Linked DNA regions of Homo sapiens: region 2 is linked to region 1. The links are contacts of gene promoters, found by promoter capture Hi-C in blood cells and fetal thymus (Javierre and others, 2016). All regions are on one chromosome and are shown on one strand. Each heading gives the region's core, a stretch centred on a gene start or on the middle of the fragment in contact. The rest is flanking DNA. Distances are from core to core; before and after follow the strand shown. Region 1 holds the start of TCF7L2 (transcription factor 7 like 2). Region 2 overlaps ADD3-AS1 (ADD3 antisense RNA 1).

The links. Contacts are between HindIII fragments. The CHiCAGO score rates a contact against its expected background, and 5 or more counts as called.
Region 2: a contact is called between a fragment that was not itself captured here and the fragment with the promoter of TCF7L2 in region 1, in 1 of 17 cell types (neutrophils). The highest score is 5.3, in neutrophils.

Annotation. Positions count from the first base shown.
Region 1 is chr10:112,948,394-112,951,700 of GRCh38, forward strand. TCF7L2 (transcription factor 7 like 2) reads left to right here and starts at 1,854. Exons shown (of 15, transcript NM_001367943.1): 1 at 1,854-2,552; 2 at 2,814-2,880; 3 at 3,090-3,214. The coding sequence starts at 2,364. LOC124902502 (a long non-coding RNA gene) reads right to left here. Exons shown (of 2, transcript XR_007062291.1): 2 at 2,236-2,614. The HindIII fragment of the contact is 8,187 bases long and covers 1-3,307 here.
Region 2 is chr10:110,001,072-110,004,378 of GRCh38, forward strand. The region is part of intron 2 of ADD3-AS1 (ADD3 antisense RNA 1); the gene reads right to left. It also overlaps a transcript of ADD3 not described here. Among named protein-coding and RNA genes, the nearest start is that of ADD3, 5.3 kb to the right of the region's middle. The HindIII fragment of the contact is 7,170 bases long and covers 1-3,307 here.

The DNA.
Region 1 (3,307 bases), core at 604-3,103:
TGAAGGTTAGTCCTACCTGCTGAGACTAATTAGCCCTGTGCTTTGTATCCTATGCAATCCTGTCTGATTAAATGTACACATTTGTTTTACTTCTTTTCAGGCTCCTTCTCACTCTACTTCTGATATTCTGATTAATATCAAAGTTGGGAGTTACAGTGATTCTCCTCTGCCTCCCCCCCAACCCATTTTTATTTTGCCTGCATCTTATTCTTTAGTGTGCAAATGTGGTTGTGATTTTTTTCCAGTGCAGGGGAATTCGTTGGCCTTGTCAATCTCGGTATCATTATTTTTAGTAGTCTTTCTGAGACTTTAGCCTATAAAACAGTTTTGCTGAAACCCCAAACTCTCTAAATATTACATGGCAAATTTGCTTTCTTTTGGAAACCTCGGTGCTGATGGGCCAGCTGAAGTGCAGGTGAGCTTTTTCAGGGAAGGGTGGGACAACAGTACATCCTGGACTCTAGACTAATACTACTCCTAAGAGGCAATTTGCTAAATCCTACTGATTTATTTTTTTCTTTTTTCTCTTTTTCATGTTGTAGTGTCCAGTCTACTTCTTACTGGGTATTTGCAAAAATGAATTTTCTTGCTCTATCACCCAGGAACATTGTGTTTTGGGAGCTGGGTCTTTCCTCTTTAACATAATTCCATTCCCCATTTTGTAGCAAATCAGTCTGCTCCTCCTCTAATACCTAAAAGTCAACAAATACCTGCCTCAAGCCCCAGGTTTCCCATCTTCTCCCGAAGGTCTTCTAGCATCGGTTTGGTTAGCAATTTCCTGCCAGAGCCACCTACATCTTGATTATTTTGGTCAGTCTTTCGGGGATTTCATTTCAGACCCCCTTCGAGAAACACTGTAGCCCAACTGATCCCAGGGGTTGGTGAACTTTCAGTTTTATTTTCCCTGACGGTGTTAACGCCCAAACTTTTCACCTCCTAAGTCAAAAAGGACTTTGACTCTAGCTCATTTCCTACTACCTCCAACGTCAGTTAAAAAAAAAAAAAAAAAAGCAAAACACCACTCTACATTTAAAAGAATCATATATTTTTCCTTAAGGATACTTTTAATGTTTCTGACATTTAGCATTTGTTTTTTGCATAAAAAGTCGTTTTGGCATATCCATCCTAGTGGGACTTAACATTTCATGAAATGATTCACTACTAATAAACAAAAAAGGGAGGAGGGAGGCCTCATGGGTTAATAGTTTCTTTCATTGTAGATGACCAGGAACTTTGACCAGCCCCTTCACTTCCCCAAGCTCTCTGAAAGTGGAGGGTTGATCTTTCCTTTTGACCACTTTTGTCGCATCCCGTCTAAGGGTGGCTGATTTCACTGCTGAATTAACCACCAAGCACCCCCCCACCCCCTCCCCCAGCCACCACTTTCTCAAATACTACCCTTCCTTTTCCCCCTCCCTTAAGACTTATTTCTAATATTTCTAAAGTGCACTGTTTTGGGCCTCTCCCCATCCCCGCCCCCCAAGTGGGCTTTCCTTCCGCCTTCCTCGGCTCGGATTCCTGACTTGGTCGCCACCCCCTTCTCCTCCTCTCCCACCCCGCATTGTCTTTCTGAAACCGCCCCCTCCCGGAGCAAGTCCCTGCACCCTCGCCCAGAATCCCGGGCTCGCACACACTCCGCGCAGGCCGCTCCCCCTGCACACTCCTCCCTCCGTCTCCCCCCGGCTTCCCCGCCCCTCTCTTCCTCCTTCTTTCCCTCCTCCCTCTCCCGGCGCCCGAAAGGATCATTGTTAGCCGCCCCCGCCCCGCCCACCCCGGCTGTTTATTTATGCACACGTCACTGGGCCGGCCCCGCCCTCCGGCATCTCATTAAGGCAGTGTGTTCCTCTCGCCCTGTCAATAATCTCCGCTCCCAGACTACTCCGTTCCTCCGGATTTCGATCCCCCTTTTTCTATCTGTCAATCAGCGCCGCCTTTGAACTGAAAAGCTCTCAGTCTAACTTCAACTCACTCAAATCCGAGCGGCACGAGCACCTCCTGTATCTTCGGCTTCCCCCCCCCTTTGCTCTTTATATCTGACTTCTTGTTGTTGTTGGTGTTTTTTTTTTTTTTACCCCCCTTTTTTATTTATTATTTTTTTGCACATTGATCGGATCCTTGGGAACGAGAGAAAAAAGAAACCCAAACTCACGCGTGCAGAAGATCTCCCCCCCCTTCCCCTCCCCTCCTCCCTCTTTTCCCCTCCCCAGGAGAAAAAGACCCCCAAGCAGAAAAAAGTTCACCTTGGACTCGTCTTTTTCTTGCAATATTTTTTGGGGGGGCAAAACTTTTTGGGGGTGATTTTTTTTGGCTTTTCTTCCTCCTTCATTTTTCTTCCAAAATTGCTGCTGGTGGGTGAAAAAAAAATGCCGCAGCTGAACGGCGGTGGAGGGGATGACCTAGGCGCCAACGACGAACTGATTTCCTTCAAAGACGAGGGCGAACAGGAGGAGAAGAGCTCCGAAAACTCCTCGGCAGAGAGGGATTTAGCTGATGTCAAATCGTCTCTAGTCAATGAATCAGAAACGAATCAAAACAGCTCCTCCGATTCCGAGGTAGGAAAAGCCCCTCGGGCTGGTGGGGTTTTTTATCTGTTTCCTGGGCTTGGCAAATGTTGCTGAAAGGGGAGAAATCGGGGCTGGGGGCGGCGGCGGGGCCCGGCGGGCGGCGTGTGCGTACGGTGCCACCATTGCAAAAACTTGTAACCCTGTTTTTTTCTACCCCCCCCTCGACCTCGCCGATTCTTTTTCTCCCCCTTCTCCCCCTTCTGCGTGGCGTTTGCCCCTCGCCCTCCCCACCTCCACCCCTCTGGGAAGGCGGAAAGACGGCCTCCGCCTCGCTCCGAAAGTTTCCGAGACAAATCCCGGGAAAGTTTGGAAGAAGGTGAGTACGCCCCGCGCGCCCCGCAGCCGCCCGGAGCCGCCCCCCGGGCCGGCCGCCCCGCGCGCCCCGGCCCCGCGCCCGGCTCGGCCTGGCCCTGCGCCGGCCCGGTCGGGGCGCCCGGCCCCTCGGGGCACTTTCTAAAAAGTTTCTCCTCACTCTCTCCCGCTCCGCGCGGCCGCCGCTGTCCCCTCGCCGCCCCGCCATGTTAGCGGCCAAGAGGCAAGATGGAGGGCTCTTTAAGGGGCCACCGTATCCCGGCTACCCCTTCATCATGATCCCCGACCTGACGAGCCCCTACCTCCCCAACGGATCGCTCTCGCCCACCGCCCGAACCGTAAGTGCCTCCGCGCCCGGCCCCCGCCCGCTGCCCGCCCGCCCGCGCCGCCCGCCGGGCCCCGCATGCGGCCCCTGCCCTGCCCCCTCCCCG
Region 2 (3,307 bases), core at 227-2,726, 2.9 Mb before region 1:
ATGTCATTTAATCCTCACAACAATGTCAAACAGGTATTATCTTACAGATTAAGATACTAGGGGCTGGGCATGTTGGCTCACACCTGTAGTCCCAGCACTTTGGGAAGCCGAGGTGGGTGGGTCACTTGAGCCCGGTAGTTCAAGACCAGCCTGGGCAACATGGCAAAACCCCGTCTCTACTAAAAACACAAAAATTAGTCAGGCATAGTGGTGCACACCTGTAGTCCCAGCTACCAGGAAGGCTGAGGTGGGAGGATCGCTTGAGCCCGGAAGATTGAAGCTGTGGTGAGCTGAAATCACACCACTGCACTCCAGCCTGAGAGACAGAGTAAGACCCTGTCTCAAAAAAAAAAAAAAAAAAATTACTAGGACTCAGAGAGGTTAAATATTTTGCACACATTTATGCAGCAGAAAAGGTGTAGCCAGTTTTGTGCTTATCTGAATCTCTTTCACATAATGAAACGGGGCCATCCGCATTTCACTCATGTCTGAGATTCTGTCTACACAGTGCATTGTTTCTATAGGATAGCTGTGATCAAACTGGTGATACATGAGAATCACTTGGGGTGCTTAAAAAGTCCTCAATCGTCTTCTTTATTCAGAGATTTTTTTTTAAAAAAAGTCTCAATCCAGGGCCCCATCCTAAAAGATTTAATTCAGTAAATTTGGAGTAGAGCCTATGAATTAGTATTTTAGGAAACACTCCAAATGGTTCTGTTGGAGGTAGTTCCTGATTACTTTCTAGAAATACTGTCATAAGAAGTAAAACACCTGGTTTTAAGATCATGTAACATACTAGAGATTCGTAGCTGAAGTGTGAAGGCATATGACTATGTGATGAAAAGATGTATATGCAACTAACGTATTTTAGGTTTCACATAGCAATTGCATTTTTTGCATTCATTTTAAAGTTTTTCTACATAGAAACTAGCGATTCTTGGCTGGGTGTGGTGGCTCACCCCTGTAATCCCAGCACTTTGGGAGGCTGAAGTGGGCAGATCGCTCGAGGCCAGGAGTTCAAGACCATCTGGCCAACATGGTGAAACCTCGTTTCTACTAAAACTACAAAAATTAGCCAGGTGTGGTGGCAGGCACCTGTAATCCCAGCTACTCAGGAGGCTGAGGCAGGAGAAACGCTTGAACCCAGGAGGTGGAGGTCACAGTAAGACTCCGTTTCAAACACAAACAAACAAAAAGAAACTAGTGAGTCTTTTTTTTTTGAGACGGAGTCTCGCTCTGTCACCCAGGCTGGAGTGCAGTGGCACAATCTTGGCTCACTGCAAGCTCTGCCTCCCGGGTTCACGCCATTCTCCTGCCTCAGCCTCCTGAGTAGCTGGGAACACAGGCTCCCGCCCCCCACACCGGGCTAATTTTTTGTATTTTTAGTAGAGACGGGGTTTCATGGTGTTAGCCAGGATGGTCTCGATCTCCTGACCTTGTGATCTGCCTACCTCGGCCTCCCAAAGTGCTGGGATTACAGGCATGAGCCACCGTGCCTGGCTGGAAACTAGTGACCCTTAAGTTGAGTTTCTATGAGTCTTTATGTTCTACATATGAGTGGGCCTCCCACTAGGAGTTTCTTATTTGTAGCAGTTGTTTGCATATTTATTTAGTCATGATGATTTTAAGTTACCAAATAGAAAATGAATAAATGAGAACAAACACTTAAAAAAAAAGAGGACCCTAAGGGTGATATTTCATTAAAGTTTCAGAAATATATCAGGCTTGATTACTTAAACAGTTGTATAAAGATCTTTCAGATATTTAGCTGAGGTTAATTCCTTTAAAATAAACCATATAGGTCACATAGTACTAATAAAATATGTTGACGAATCCTTGAGTATTGCCCTGATTATATCTCCTTGGGGAATGGAGAACTCATTAGCATGAATTCCGTGTTAGTCCTCCCTGCCTTGTTCCCCAAGTACTTTCCAGACTGGCTTGGCATAAAAGGGTGATCAAAATGTATGCAGCATGGCCAAGTTTCAAATGAATGGCTCATCTAACTCCACTGATTAAATACATAACATTATGTAGTTTGAAAAGGCTGTTGTGCTTCATTAAGTTTACTTTTCTGTCTGAGAGCTTTAAAAAGGTAAATTTTGGGGGGGTGGGATAGGGAGAGGATTCTATAAATTCTTGGCTCTTCATATTCAAATGGCATATGCATATTTCCCAACCCAAGGGAAAATCCTCAAAGCTGAGAAGTTGTTAAATTGGGAACAGTAAGGGTGTGTGTGTGTGTGTGTGTGTGTCTGTGCATGGAGAAAGAGGAAGAGAGAAAGATAAACCTGTTTGCTTTCTGAAACAACAAGTAGTAAAACAGGTTGTTTAGGGTAAAGTCCCTTGAACTAGATAATTGATTTTAAATACATTTGCCTATAATAATACCTTATATTTACATAGTGCTTTGAAAAGTTCAAAGCATTTTTACATTTATTATCTCATTTGAACTTCACTACAACCCTATGAAGTAGGTACAGCACGTATTATAATCCACCGCCACCACCACTTAAAAGACAGCTATACTGAGGCACAAGCATGTCGAGAAACTTGTTTAAGGTCATATAACCAGTTGGTGTTACATCTAGAACTGGAACACCAGAACTCTGAAACTGAAGCCTGTGTTTTCTTGGCAGAAAGTGCCTCTGCTACTGCTTGATCTACCCAGAGTTCCTGTTGAGATTTGTGGCTACAATTTAATTGGAGAATACAAATCAGGCACGTCTAAAGAGCTCTACAGAAAAGAGATTGTTTCTTTTAGATCATGACTGTGTTAGGAAAGGGAGGTAGAGAATGGAGTCAGTTGTTTTGGACAATGCAAATTAAAAACAAACAAAAACACTTTGTAGTCAGTTTCTGGATATGTTGGGAGCAATTCATTCATTAAATCGTGTATTCATTTTTTAAAGTATCCGTTAAGTGCCTTTATATAAGAGACTGTGCTGAGCACTTTGGGAAGAGGTAAAGAAATGCATTCAATTTGCGGGGAGGGGATGTGGGGGAATGCTTTGAATTATACAAATAATCACCATTTTATTCATTGTTCAATACTACCTGGTAGATGAAATAAAAAGCCCTCCTTGCAGAGAAGCAAGGAAAACAAAAACAGATGAAGGAAACTGGGCAACTAATTTCTTTTAATTCTCTCCCTGTAGGAGGCATTAAAAAAAAAAATTGAGGCCGGGTGCGGTGGCTCACGCCTGTAATCCCAGCACTTTGGGAGGCCGAGACAGGCGGATCACAAGGTCAGGAGATCGAGACCATCCTGGCTAACACTGTGAAACCCTGTCTCTACTAAAAATAC